Linked DNA regions of Homo sapiens: regions 2 and 3 are each linked to region 1. The links are contacts of gene promoters, found by promoter capture Hi-C in blood cells and fetal thymus (Javierre and others, 2016). All regions are on one chromosome and are shown on one strand. Each heading gives the region's core, a stretch centred on a gene start or on the middle of the fragment in contact. The rest is flanking DNA. Distances are from core to core; before and after follow the strand shown. Region 1 holds the start of GEM (GTP binding protein overexpressed in skeletal muscle). Region 2 has its middle 110 kb from the start of CDH17. Region 3 overlaps LOC124901979 (a long non-coding RNA gene).

Region 1 (4,619 bases), core at 531-3,030:
CTATGATGTTTCTGTTGAGACCAGTTGACAGAGTAGGAGTGTCAGTATGGAAAAAGCATGGATCATTTTGAAACATGGATTATTCATCAATTACATGTGTTTTAGAATGGAGTCAGTGATATACTCTTGGAGATGATCTCCCCCACCCCCCATCTCCTCTCCTTTTCCTTTCCCCACATCTGTAGCCACTTCCTGTCAGCGAAACCCAGAAGAAAAACTTGACAGAAGCAAAGGGCATCCAGAGAATTATGATCCCCAGGTTGTAGTTCCAGTTCTGTCATGTCCTAAGCGGTCATCTCCTCTCTGGGTCTCAGGTTTCTTATGTATAAGATAAGTAGGAGATTGGGGCCACAACACCTGAGACTAAAGGAATTCTAAGTTTTCATTACTCTATGGATTCCACCTTTGCTAGCTTGGGACCTGGCAGGTCTCAGCAGCTGGTCATGTAGCTAATTCTCAAAGCAGATAAATGCCTGCAGGATAACTGTGAATTGACTCTAATCACAGCAGAGTCCAGCTGCTTCAATAGATGCTGGTGCCTTTGGCTGCTTCCCGGAGCCACCAGCCAACCCAGAGTTGAAGCTGGCTGGAAAAGCAGATATGTTGGAGAGGCCAGCATCATCTCTAAACACAGCATCTGGGAAATACCCATGTCCCCAGAAAGAGGTCATTGAAATCCTTCACTTGGTGGTGCAGTGCAGAGACTCAGGAAAACCAGGCTTTGAGTCCTGACCCTGCCACTTATACCAGCGGTGTGACCTTGGGCAAATTCTCTGGCCCTATGTTATCTTCCTCCTCCATACAATGAGGGTAGAAATAGAGCCACCTTGCAGAAGTATAGTAAGGATTAAGGTCCCAGGAGGCCTAACAGTACCTACTAAGCAGAGGTCCTCAGAGGTACTTAATAAATGGTAGTAGTAGTTATTATCCTGTGCCCTTTGTTCACAGGAGTCTCTTACAGGGGTGTTGGTCTCAGTGCTCCTCCCCATGGCCAGGCTGTATTGGCTCATGCCCAAGGCGTAGCCTTGCCAGGGAGCCTGGTACAGAGATGCTGCTGATTGGGATGCTGATTAAATTCCCTGATTGAGGAGCCTCAGCATTCTGGCCCAGAGCAGGAGGGCCAGCAATATTTAGCACAATCTGCTTGGATCCTCAATTAAATTGTTTTTCCAAACTGCCCTTTTCAAGGTCTTGTCCTCTTTCCTCACCTCTTTCTGGCCCCTTCTCTCTGGGTCCTTGCCAGAGAAGGGAAACAAAGCCTTGTGGGGCTCCATCTGCTTCCCCCTATCCAGAAGAAGGTGACAAGGCTGTCTTCGTTGCAGAAGATGTGGTTAAAACAAGCCTTGGCTATTCAAGGTGGCTGCAGTCTCATCCTGGAGGCTAAAGTCTCTGCGCATTCCAGGTTGATCTCTGTTTTCTTGGCAAAACTGAGTTCTCAACTCAAACCTGCCTCTCCCTTCCATCCTTTATCCCGACAGCTCGCAAGTGCTTTGCTGGGAAGGACGATTAAGTGTCACTTAGTGTATTTTTCCATTTTCCTGTGTTCATCTGGTAAAAAGAAAATAAAACAAAATAAAGGAGGCCCAGGATTGAACTGTCATTATTTTTTAAATGGAGAGAGAAGGGGTCACATGACTGCGAGTAACTGATTTAGCCAAGTGGCTGCAACTCCGAGTTTGCTGCAGAGCCGCCCCCTCCCGGCGGGGGCGCTGACGTCACGGAAAAGCCCCGCGGCGGGTCGGCTGGGCTGGTTATAAACCGCCCGGCCGCGGCGGCTGCAGGCGGCGGGCAAGGACGGCGGGCACAGCGCAGCACTCCCCGCTCGTTGGCCCGGGTATCCCAGCGCGGACCCACGCGATACGCTGACGCCCCGACGCCGATCCGGCCGAGCCAAGTAAGGGGGACGGCCCGAGACGGAGAAGGGAGAGAGTGGGAGTTTCCCAGCCCGCAGAACTTTCGAAGTTGAGAAAAGAACCCCTGGAACGTGCGCTCAGCACTGGGATTTTCTGGTAGGGGTCAGAGCTTCAAGTGCAAAGGATGTCGCTTCTCATCAGCAGGTTCCTTAGTTCAATTCGGTAGAAGGGTCACCTCCCTCTACAGATCGAGTGGTCAGAGAGGGCAGCCCTTAATGATGCTTTATGTATTTGTTGTTTGAATGTAAGTCTGCCAACTGAGGTGCTGCTTTTGAGACTAAAAAACCGGCTGGTCGTCCTGGTTAGTGGCGAGATGTTGGGGTACGGAGTGTGGGGGTGAGGGTGGGAGAGGAGTGTTTGTGCATCTTGCTGATTGCAACGTAAGTACTTATACTTTATCACCAGTAGCCGGAAAAACAGACCTCCCGGCTAGGGGAGGCAGTCTGCAAAGGGAAAGTTGTAGAGAAGTTGTTGAATATCATTTAGGGGAGTCTTCAGCCTTCTGATTTGCTTCAAGAAGGGGATCTGAGAATGGTGGCTCAGGCCTGTGATCTCAGCACTTTCGGAAGCCGAGGCAGGAGGATCACTTGACCCCAGGAGTTCGAGACCAGCCTGGGCAACATAGTGAGGCCACTGTCTCTACCAAAAAATAAAAATAAAAATAAAAAAACTAGTGGACGTGGTAGTGCAGGTCTGTAGTCCCAGCTACTTGGGAGGCTGAAGTGGAGGATCTCTTGAGCCTGGCAGTTGGAGGCTAGCTACAGTGAGCTATGATCGTGCCACTGCACTCCAGCCTGGGTGACAGAGCAAGACCCTGACTCAAAAAAGGAATCTGAGTTGAATTAAAGAACTCTTGAGAATGGATGTGGTTTTTTAAGAATGAGGCACTTTCTCTGCAAATTTCATAGGTCTGAACATGAGCAGGTCATTTCTCTGCCAGGGTGTCTAGGTTTGGAGCCGGGATGTTTTAAAAGTGGTATCTGTGGGTAAGAGGGCACAGCTGAGGCATAAACTTTAAACAGAAAATTTCCCCCCTACCCCCAATAATGGCAGGTGGATGCTCTCCAGGCAGCTGGAGAGCATCAAGGCAACTTTACTAAACATGGAAGTTCCAATAAGTGCCTGTCCAGTCCAGCCAGGGTTGCAGTGGGCAGGGGAGGGGAGGGTGATGTCATTGCCACGTGTTTCCCACTGAGGCACAAAACCTGCTGGACACTGGTGCAATTAAGAGCCAAGTTTAGACAAGAGCAGCTAACCTGACCAGCTGGTCCCCAGCAACATTAACTTGTTGCTTTTCAAGCCATCTTTGGAGTCTGCTGGTTCTTTCCAGCTGCCTTTGTGCCAGCTCTGAGTGCAGCTCTTCTTTCATCCAAGTCTGCTTTGAGGAAGGGGGAAGCCCATGGGCAGTGGGTGATGTTAACCGTATTTGTTTTCCCATGCAAATGATAGTCTGCCTGAGGAGCTGGTTACTGACAGTGTGGGCAGCATGTGTGTGTCCAGTTGAAAGCCTGTCTTGTTGGGGTTTGGGGGACTGTTTAATTGGTGGTCTTTATGTTAGGGATACTTGCTTCTCATCTCATCTAATAAAATATTACTGATGACTGACCATGTATTTGAGCGGAGCTCTCACTCATGCTTACTAATGCTGCCATCTTGGCTGCTTTGCTCCCCAGGACTCAACGATGACTCTGAATAATGTCACCATGCGCCAGGGCACTGTGGGCATGCAGCCACAGCAGCAGCGCTGGAGCATCCCAGCTGATGGCAGGCATCTGATGGTCCAGAAAGAGCCCCACCAGTACAGCCACCGCAACCGCCATTCTGCTACCCCTGAGGACCACTGCCGCCGAAGCTGGTCCTCTGACTCCACAGACTCAGTCATCTCCTCTGAGTCAGGGAACACCTACTACCGAGTGGTGCTCATAGGGGAGCAGGGGGTGGGCAAGTCCACTCTGGCCAACATCTTTGCAGGTGTGCATGACAGCATGGACAGCGACTGCGAGGTGCTGGGAGGTAGGTGTCCCAGCCCCAGTGGGCTTCTTTCCACCAGGGGTGGCCCAGGAAGAAAGAGTGAGGGTGGGTGACTTATTTACCCACAGAGTTGGGAGCTGAAGTTAGGCATTTTGGACAATTGATGGGGGAGCTGAGTCTCTAGAAAAGCCCAAGCACAGGCTTTCGGGCAAGAAAATGAAAATGCTTGTAGACAGGACCAAAATCTGTTGATCCTGGGCCAGAAAGGGAATTCTTCAGATTCCAATTCTAAATGGGTTGGGGAAGGCTGATTAGAGAGGGCAGAGCCAGAGGGTCAGCGCCCCACTTGACTTCTGCTGACTCTGACTTGAACATTCTTCCCGGAACTCAGTATAGACACAGCCTTTTTCCATGGTTATACCTAAAACAAGCCAGTTGGAAAAGCTGTTAGGATGGCTTGATCAGTTTGCTTCCACCAATATTAGAAAGTTTTGTGGGTGTTAAATAGTTCAAAATCTGTATTTGAAATAGCATAATAATTTTTTAAAATGTGAAGTATAACAATGAAACTTTCTATAGAGTCTGACAGCTTTTCAAGACAATTTTCCCTGTACAATTTCATCTATTTATTGATTGGAGCCTGGCCTATTTCCAAAACTGTTTTGAGGTGACATTATCTCAAAATGCATGTATTCTTCAGCTAGGGGTAAAGCACAGCCCTATGTTCTGCTAAGT
Region 2 (4,438 bases), core at 1,198-3,697, 170 kb after region 1:
TCATGGACATTTCCTTCATGGCCCCTCTAGGCACTTTAGTCTTGTGAACCCTTGAAAAATGAACCCGTGCAAAGGGTAAAGGCAGGACACACTCATTGGCTCAGTTATCAGTGTTCCTGCCAGCTCTGTCCTCTAGCTACCTGTCAAGAGTTCAGAAGGAATGGGACATTGACCGTCATCTCTGAGCTCCCTGTCACTGGCCTGGACCTGGAGAGAATGCTTCCTCAAGGAAGCTTTCCATGGCTGCTCCTCTTGGAAAACCTCTCCTTCTTTTATGCCCCTACAGCAGGGTGTACAGGTAATACAGGATCCCCCCTGCTCAACATGCATGCACATGCATGTGTGCATGCACACATCAGCTCCTGCTGTATATATGGCTTGACTTTGGCTGCCTGCTGCCAGTGTTACCCCTACATAACACTCAATGCACATTAGGGTTGTTTGCCTTTATTCATAGGTCTGTGAGTGTTTGGGTGGTGAGCAGTGGAGGAGGAAGAACCTAGATAGGGGCATGGAGAGGAAGAAGAGGAAAAAGCAGCCGTGATTTAGAAAGACAGCAGCAATGATTTCATATCTATTATCTTAGGGATGGCCCTATGCATTGAGTGTGGCCTGTGTTGAAGAGAGAAGACCCAAAGCTGACACCACTGTCCAAAGGGGCTTTGACTAGTGCTGCTCTGATGGCCCAGAAGACACAGAGCAGCCAGAGGCCCAAGAGAGTCCTTTCTGGCCTTTGCAAAGAATGTCTGCACCTCCCTCCACTCAGAGGCCTGGAGGGTTTGGATGAGGGGAGATGGCACGCTTGGCCTGGGTGGTGGGCTTCTTGTGATGAGCTGTCACTGTGAAGAGACTTGCTGTGCTGAAGGCAGTGTGGATGGCAGGGAGAAGAAGAGGAAGAACAGAGCAAATGTGCACGGTAGCAAGCTGGTTGGAAGCACTTGTGAAGCACCGCTGGGGGCTCCCAGGGGTAAACTGGGGCTCTCTGCTTAGGTCCCACCACTAGACAGATGGAAGCTACCATGTCATTAGACATTGATTTACAGGTATTTGTGTTCACATCTGTATTCATTGGAATATAAAGTTGGCTTCTTTAACAAAGAGACCTAAGTTAAAGTCATTTACATTAAAAGTTGCCTTCTCTCTCAGGTAGAAGTCCAGGGACATGGTCCATGCTTGCTATGGTTGTTTTATAATCATCAGAGCCCAGGTTCTGCTGCTCTGCCATCCTCACAATGTGGCTTCTACCTCATGGTTCTTCAGGGCATCTCCAGCTCCTGCCGTCATATCTGCTTCCAAGTAACAGGAAGGAAAAGAAGGGGAAAGCATGGGGACATCATTTCTTTTTAAGGCACAACTATATGTTACACAGATCACTTACATCCCATAATCCAGAACGTTGTTATAGGACCACCACTAGCTGCGAGAGAGGCTGGAAGACAGTGTTTGGCTTGGTAATCATATACCCAGTTAAAAATTCTATTACTTTAGAAGAACAGGAGAATGAATATATTAGATTTCAAATATAAGTTTCTTCCAGAGCATCTGTCTCCACTAGACTAGAAGCTCACTGAAAACCAGGGCTTTAGTCAACCATGATTCCACCAAGCTCTAGCATAATATGTACACGTAGTTGACAGACCATAAACCAGAACTGCCATGACGTCCTGTTCTTGCTACTCTGTCACTATGGGCTAGTCACAGTGGGTAGCACACGTACCCGCAATGAAAGCCGAGCCTCACAGAATTGATGCCTTCTCTGCCATTTACTTGCTCTGTGTGTCTGAGCAAGTCAGTCCGGACATAAGTTTCTTCATCAGTTCAGGGGGAATAATAATACCTGCCGTTATAGGGTTGTGAAGATTAAGGGTATGTTTAGTGCCTGGTACTCAGTTGGCATTCAATAAGTGGTTTAAAAAAATTAGACCATCCCATGGCAATGTCAGGGAGAGGCCACATGCAGAATTTCAGTCTCTCTGGGCAGTGCATACAGCTGTTGTTGAGGACAACAGAATAGTTCCAGGTGGGTGTGTACTTGCTTGAGGCAATTATCTGTATAAATGACCAAGGAGAGAACTCAGCTAGTAACCTTAGGAAACCAATAGTCTGAATTTCTCCACCTATTTGTGATAAGACTTTTTCTCAACATGGCATTTTTGCCAGGTACCAAGAGAGATAGGTACTGGGAATCCTTTTCCCTCATGGCCTAAGGGAACTGGGGGGAAGCAAAGAGCATTTCAATTAAAGGTTTCTCTGTGCTGTGGAATTCCAATCCTGCAGGAGGTTTGGCCAAGAGGCTCATTGCATGAGGTTCTCCAGCCCACCCTAAAGGACTTCTCCCTGTTCCAGACAATAAGAATTCTTGGCTCAAGTGCAGCAGACACATAGTGTGGGAACTAACTCAAGGCAGTCACCTCCTTTCTTTCCCTCCAGAAGGGCGAGAATCTAGACCTCTCTCTAAATCACTTAGAGTCATAGTATTGGCCATGCAAGCCACCTTTCCCAAGGTATTGATAAAAATAAGTATGTGGCCTTGAACATGTCACCTGCAGGGACAAGAGTCACACTGACAGTGTGACATGGGAAAAGCATGGGACTGAGGCAGCCCTTGGATCAAGTGTCAGTTTCACCACTTACAAGGGAGATTTGGGGCAAGTCCTGTAGCCTTGCAGAGTCTCAGTTTTCTCCTCTGTAAAGTGGAGGCTACTTCATGCCTCAATAGGATTAAAAAAAACAGAACTGAAGTCATGTATCAAAAAAGCATCTCGTACATGGAAAAGCTCTGAAAATGTTTTCAATATTGTAAACTTGGTCAAGCTCCCTTTAGAGACTTTAGTGCTTCTAAAGGGAAATACAGGGGCCTCTCCCATGCAGTACCACCCATCCTGGCTGCTTAGGGGGCCCTGCCTCAGATTTTTGTTCACCCCCACCTGATGAGGAACACTCAGAGAGCAATTAGATTGCTCCCTTCTGATGTCCCAGCCCCATGAGTATCTGGGCCATTGGTTCCATGGCTCTCCTCCCTGACATGAACAGACCATTTCCAGATTAGTTAGCAGGTTAGAACTTGGCATTAGAGTTGGAGAGACCTGGCTTTCTCAGTCACTTGCTGGAGACTTTGAGTTATTTAGCTGTCTGACTCTTGATTTCCAAGTGGGGAAAATAATAGCAATGTATTAATTAGAATACTTTAGGTTGCAAGTAGCAAAACAAACTCAAACTGGCTTAATCAGTAGGGATATCAATTATCTTACATAACAAGGTTTCTAGAATAATTCAGTTTTCAGGACTGTTTGATTCAGTGGCTCAACTGTGCCATTGAGTAAGCTGGTCTCCCTCTCCTGGCTCTGCCATTCTCATGCTGGCTCTGCCTAATCTGTTAGCTGTATGGCTGCAGCCATCCCAGGCATCAAAGATTAAGGAAACTTCTAAGATCTTCCCCAGGAATGTTGTTCTCTCATCTAACTTTCCAGATAAGAGGTACCTATGCCCATCCCTGAACCAATCACTGGGAAGGAGACAGGTTTAACCTGAGATGAATCAAGCCAGTTGCTGGAGCAGGGGTGCATTTGGTTTTCCCAAGGCCACACTGGGGAAGAATGAAATGGATTTTATTAGAAGTGTTAAATTACATAAGCAGGATGCTATGACCATGATGCTGTCTCCATACTCTGGGTTCCTGGGTAACAAACTGCAACCTAATTTAAAGAAACAGAAACCTCATTTAGGAGCATATTTTACAACAAAGAGCTGAACTTCGGCCATTAACAGACAGCCACCTGATCAGACCATGCTCAAATAAGGCAAATACTTAGCTGTAGCCTATCAAGTAACTTCTCTACTTTGCTTCCGCATTCGGTCCATAAAAGCTCCCTGTTCACATGGCTAGGTAGAGCTCTCTGAATTGCCTTTGGTTTTGAGTGCTGCCTTATTCATGAATCATTCTTTCCTCAAGCTGTTAAATTTGTCTGAAGATTTTCTTTTAACAGAAGAAAGGGCAAAATGGATGCTAAGTGGGCAACCAAGAGTTTCCTCTGCCAGTGACCCATCAGGGTGGTGTCAGGGTTCAAGGAAATGGGGTAGTGAGTGCTTGCTAAATGGCACCTATTAGTATTCTCTTTTTTCATTTTCCCATCAAATTCTATCCTGCCTCCTGCTGCCTCAAGACCCAGATGTGTGATCATGAGGATATTCCAAACGTGGCAGTTCTTAGTATCAGACAGAACTGCGGGGACAAGACAAAGAGCAGAGGGGACTGAAAACAAAAACAAAATACCTTCAAATCATAGCCCTACAGAATTCCCTTTAGGACCATCATTTGTCCTGAATGTCCTCACAGCAGCCCCATCGGCCTCCTGCTACTGTTGCTGTGTCTGCAAAGGAGTGGGCCTGACACACGTTCTCAGACGTTATACTGTAGCTGGGAGAATGTGGCCCATCA
Region 3 (5,027 bases), core at 2,146-4,645, 230 kb after region 1:
AAGACGGGGTCTCACTCTGTTGCCCAGACTGGAGTGCAGTGGTACAATCATGGCTTACTGCAACCTCCACCTCCCTGGCTCAAGTGATCCTCCCACTCAAACTCTTCAGTAGCTGGGACCCCAGGTGTGTGCCACCATGTCTGGCTATTTCTTTATATTTTTAGTAGAGATGGGGTGTCACCATGTTGCCCAGGCTGGTCTCGAACTCCTGAGCTCAAGTGATCCTCCTGCCTCAACCTCCCAAAGTGCTGGCACACCACACCCAGCACATATTTAAATAGGGATTGGCTCGGCAGGTGGCTCATGTCGGTAATCCCAGCACTTTGAGAGGTTGAGGTAGGGAAGGATGACTTGAGGCCAGGAGTTTAAGGCCAGCCTGGGCAACAATGCAAGACCCCATCTCTACAAAAAATAAAAAAATTAGCCAGGTGTAGTGGCTAATTTTTAGTCTGAGCTACTCAGGAGGCTGAAGCAGAAGGATCACTTGAGCTCAGGAGTTCGAGGCTGCAGTGAGCTATGATGACACCACTGCACTCCAGCCTTGGCAAGAGACTGAGACCCCATCTCTAAATAAATTTTTTTTTAAGTGGGAATTATAATAGTGCCTCCCTCAAAGGCCAAATATTTTCTAATATTCATTTTAAAATGTATATTATTAATATATAAAGTGTTTATCCAAACGTCACCTAAAATGATCTTGTAAAATACCAGTTGTCTTCATGCTATGTTTGAGATACACTGATACTACATAAAATAAAGAGAAGGAAGTAAGTGTGCTCAGCACAAGCCCTGCTGCCCCCTGACCCCCGCATCACACACATACCCACTCAATCCACAGAGGAAGGCAGCATTATAATTACGTGACCCGCCAGCATGTTGAGGTTGAGTGGCCTGACACAAGGTGGGGAACAGAGGAGAAACCTGTGCTGTGTCCAAAAGCCCCAGGGGTTTTCCAAGGTGTATGCAGACCTCTGTCTCTCCCAGGCTATCAGGCCCTTTGTGAATGAATTCACAATGACCCTGCCAGAAGTTTAGGCCAAGAATTCCCCTTTGGATAAGATGGATTCTGAGAAATCATTGTATTTCCCTAAACACAAGTCTGTGTTTTTACCCAAAGTCCCATCAAATCTTAAAAGCCCTTGGTCAAGCTTTTAAAGCCTTGCCAATATTATAAAGACGAGACTTATCAGGCTTCTATTAATAAAAACCTAAGCATGAAGAATAAAGGGAAATCTGGACTCTTGGCCACAGGGGAACAATACATTGTAGCTTCCAAATGTATGCATTTTAAAGGCACTAAAGGTATCAAATGTCATATTGCTACAAGTCAGACAGAATTTAACATTTTTTCACCTTCCTACCACTTTTTTCACCTTCCTACCACTTTTTTCACCTTCCTACATGTACATATGTGTAAATTAAGATACATATTTTTGAGAGCTATTGAAAATACTTTTGAGAAGTTTTGAGCTATTTTTGAAAAATGTCTGACGCAAAGTAATGCAGGGACATTTGGATAAAAGAATGACAAGAGCATCCCTGAGAACTGAGAAAGGTGGAGCACCACTCCCCTCACACCTCTGAGCACTCCCACAGGTCCAGCGAGTTCTTTAGTAGAATGTTAGGTTTGGATGATTAAGCAGGGATGGGATCTGAGCTAAATCAGAGACTGAAGGCCAAGGTCTGCACTTTCTAATTCTGTCTCTGCTGGTAACTCCCTGCAGGACGCTGTGTGCTACCTCATAGGAAAATAGAAATAAAGATTTTACTGAGCTAATTACAAAGTGGCTTTAAATAATAAAAATATTTATGATGGAGAGATAAATATATGGCTATACATATGGAGAGATTTTACACACGTGATTTTAGCAGTAAAAGAGACTTTAGTTCGATCATGTTGCTTTTAACAGATGAAGAAACTGGGGAATTGAAATGCCAAGTGATTTGCTTAAGGTCACACAGTAAATTACTGCTGGATTAGGGATCAGGAAATAGGCCTCCTGATGTGATTCCAGGTGCTTTGCGTGCTAGTACATGGGCGGCAATGTAATGGCATAGTGAAGACAGTAGTTGAGTCTGCAGACAGAAAATAAGTAGATGTGGTTAAAGAGTTCTTATAAATTCTTCTTATGAAAAGTAGGGACAGATAATTTTTTTCTTTTCTTTCTTTGATAAGAATAGAATGGAAAGGAAATTGGTATAGTTTTGAAAGGTTAGGTGATAGTAAAATAATAATTGATATTAAATATTATATTAGTAATAATAATAGCAGTTAATAACATGCATTAAATATCATATGCCAGGCACTATGCATGTGAGCCTCACGTGATCCTTATGACATCTCTATGATATTGAGACTATTCTTAGCACCATTTTAGCAAAGAGAAAACAGAGTTTGATGAAAAATTTCCAATTAGATGGCCTCCATATGTGGTTGATTGCATGAGCCAATTCTGCTGCCTTACTTTGGGCATTAACAGATGGAGCCCACCCTAAGAGTAGAAGGCCAGGGGACTTAAAACCTTAAAACCCATGGGAGAGAGATCTGAAGGACTCCTTGTGAATGTTTCTTACTAAGTTAACATATATATAAACTCACTTAATTCTTTCGGCAACCATAAGACCTAATTACTAAGGTTTCATTAGTTCCATTTTATAGATATGGAAGCTGAGCAAAGACAGATCAAGTAATCTGACGGAGGTGGAGCCAGGATTCAATCCTAGTTTCCTTTACTTCGGAGTCCATGCTGTAAACCACCATGCTCAGCTTTCTCCTGATCCTCCATTTTGTCATCTGTAAGACGTGGGTTATAACACAAATAATGTTTGGAAGACGATGATACCTCACGATGCCAGGTAGATGAAGGCACTTTATAGACTATTAGGTACCGAAGGACACTATTTTTGTGAAGATGAGAAGAGAAGCTTTGTTTGAAACCACCGAATTTAAAACTTAAGAGTTTTCCTAGTAATGTTTACTAATTTTTTTTAATTCTGGAAGCTAAAATTCTAGATGCCTCTTTGCCATTTTCCTTCTGCATACATTACTAAAATATGCATGAAACCTCAAGATGCAAATTGAGCTTTCTAATGAAAACCATCACCAGTTAAAACACTTGGTAAGACTGATGAGGGGAGTTAAAAATCCAAATAGCAAGCTGGCTCCCAAAGGGTTGTTCCTGTTGATCTCGGGATTCTGAAAGAAAATAATTAAAGCAAGGCCCTTGTAAGGTTCCCACCAAGATTTATGGACAGAAACTTAAATATCTCAGCTATTCCGCTTCTGTTTAATTGCTCCACTGTCAGTGACCTCCACAATGGAAAATCTGAGTCGCGGGCAGCCGGGGAGGGATGTGAGCGCTCGCAGCAGCCGGGAGATGCAGCAGAGGAAGTGGGAAACCCTCCCGCTGCAGCGGCGCTGCTGCACTCACAGTAATAGCTCAGGAGCTGAAGTAAGAGGTCAAGGTGGGAGGGAAGCAGATCCAACTGCCCATAAATATTCTTAATACATTGTATATCCCTATGCACATTGCTTTGAATTAGTATTTCTTGTCTCCATCTTGACCACAGGTTGTTCCCCACAAACATATTACGTACTCAGACACACATGGTCAACTTTCCAAAACAGAACAGCTTGCTGAAAGAGAACTCTGGGATGTTTGTTGCTTAAAACGGCATTTATTTCTTAGGACAAGTTCTAATCAAAGCCAGCCATGACTTGATGTCTTATAACCACCACAGTGAAACATTTCCAAATCTAGTCTAGAGGGCATTCCAACAATAGAAAACAGAAAGGCTTCCATCCAACCTAGACTGTCACAGCACAAGTAGTATGTTTTAATGCAGATAACTGGCCTTAAGCTTGGCTAGTGTCAAGTCCTTTCTATTTTTTCCCCTCTGTTTTTCTATTTTTTAAAAATTTGTCCTAGATAGTGCTTACATGGCAACAAATATGAATAACCAACTGTACGCTGAAAGACTTTCCACAAGGGGATATGAAAATGAGGGCACAGGGACACCGCCCTTTTGAAATGATTTATCGATGTACTGAAATCTATGTATTTGTGACATCAACGTACTGAAATCTATGCATCTGTGATCACGAGGACATACACACCAGCGCTCACTCACAGCTGAATCCATCCAAGGCTGAGATCTTTATTGTGTGGAGAAGGGAGACAAATGAAACACTTAGGTCAACTCCTCACAGTCTTCTTCCAGAAGTCAACCTCTTTAGCTTTGGCCAAGTCGTATGTATTTATTAGTGGGTGCAAAAGTATTTGCAATTTTTCCATTAATTTTAATGGCAAAAACCGCAATTTAATTGCACCAACCTACTAAGTGGCAGCCCTAATTCCTTTCATGGAGCTGTAGTTCAAAAAGGTTATTGACCTTCTTAGTGAGTCAGTTGGCAGAGAGTCTTGGGGGTGCAAACAAGCACATTGGTAAAAGGAGCACACATAAAAAATGGATGGTGAGCAGTTACACTCCTAGATATATACCCAAAAGAACTGAAAGCCGGGACTCAAACACAAACTTACACACAAATGTTCATAGCAGCACTGTTCACAATAGCCAAAAGGTAGAAACAACTCAAGTTTCTGTCAACTAATGAATAGGTAAACAAAATGTGGTATGTCTATACAATGGAATATTACTCAGCCTTAAAAAGGAATGACATTGGGTTGGGCGTGGTGGCTCATGCCTGTAATCCCAGCACTTTGGGAGGCTGAGGTGGGTGGATCACCTGAGGTCAGGAATTCAAGACCAGCCTGGCCAACATGGTGAAATCCTGTCTCCACTAAAAATACAAAAAATTAGCCAGGTGTGGTCGTGGGTGCCTGTAATCCCAGCTACTCAGGACGCTGTGGCAGGAGAATCACTTGAACCCAGGAGGCGGAGGTTGCAGTGAGCCGAGATTGCGCCATTGCACTCTAGCCTGGGCAACGGAGCAAAACTCCATCTCAAAAAAAAAAAGGAATGACATTCTGATATGTGCCACAACATGGATGAATCTTGAAAACATT

The links. Contacts are between HindIII fragments. The CHiCAGO score rates a contact against its expected background, and 5 or more counts as called.
Region 2: a contact is called between a fragment that was not itself captured here and the fragment with the promoter of GEM in region 1, in 1 of 17 cell types (M2 macrophages). The highest score is 5.7, in M2 macrophages.
Region 3: a contact is called between a fragment that was not itself captured here and the fragment with the promoter of GEM in region 1, in 2 of 17 cell types (M0 macrophages and M1 macrophages). The highest score is 5.6, in M0 macrophages.

What each region holds. Positions count from the first base shown.
Region 1 is chr8:94,259,480-94,264,098 of GRCh38, reverse strand. GEM (GTP binding protein overexpressed in skeletal muscle) reads left to right here and starts at 1,780. Exons shown (of 5, transcript NM_005261.4): 1 at 1,780-2,009; 2 at 3,587-3,926. The coding sequence starts at 3,596. RefSeq lists silencers at 2,469-2,538, 3,680-3,823. The HindIII fragment of the contact is 9,385 bases long and covers 1-4,619 here.
Region 2 is chr8:94,094,426-94,098,863 of GRCh38, reverse strand. No RefSeq gene overlaps it. Among named protein-coding and RNA genes, the nearest start is that of CDH17, 110 kb to the left of the region's middle. The HindIII fragment of the contact is 4,424 bases long and covers 236-4,438 here.
Region 3 is chr8:94,026,913-94,031,939 of GRCh38, reverse strand. All of the region lies in intron 1 of LOC124901979 (a long non-coding RNA gene), which reads right to left. Among named protein-coding and RNA genes, the nearest start is that of PDP1, 110 kb to the right of the region's middle. RefSeq lists enhancers at 777-906, 917-1,046. The HindIII fragment of the contact is 936 bases long and covers 2,928-3,863 here.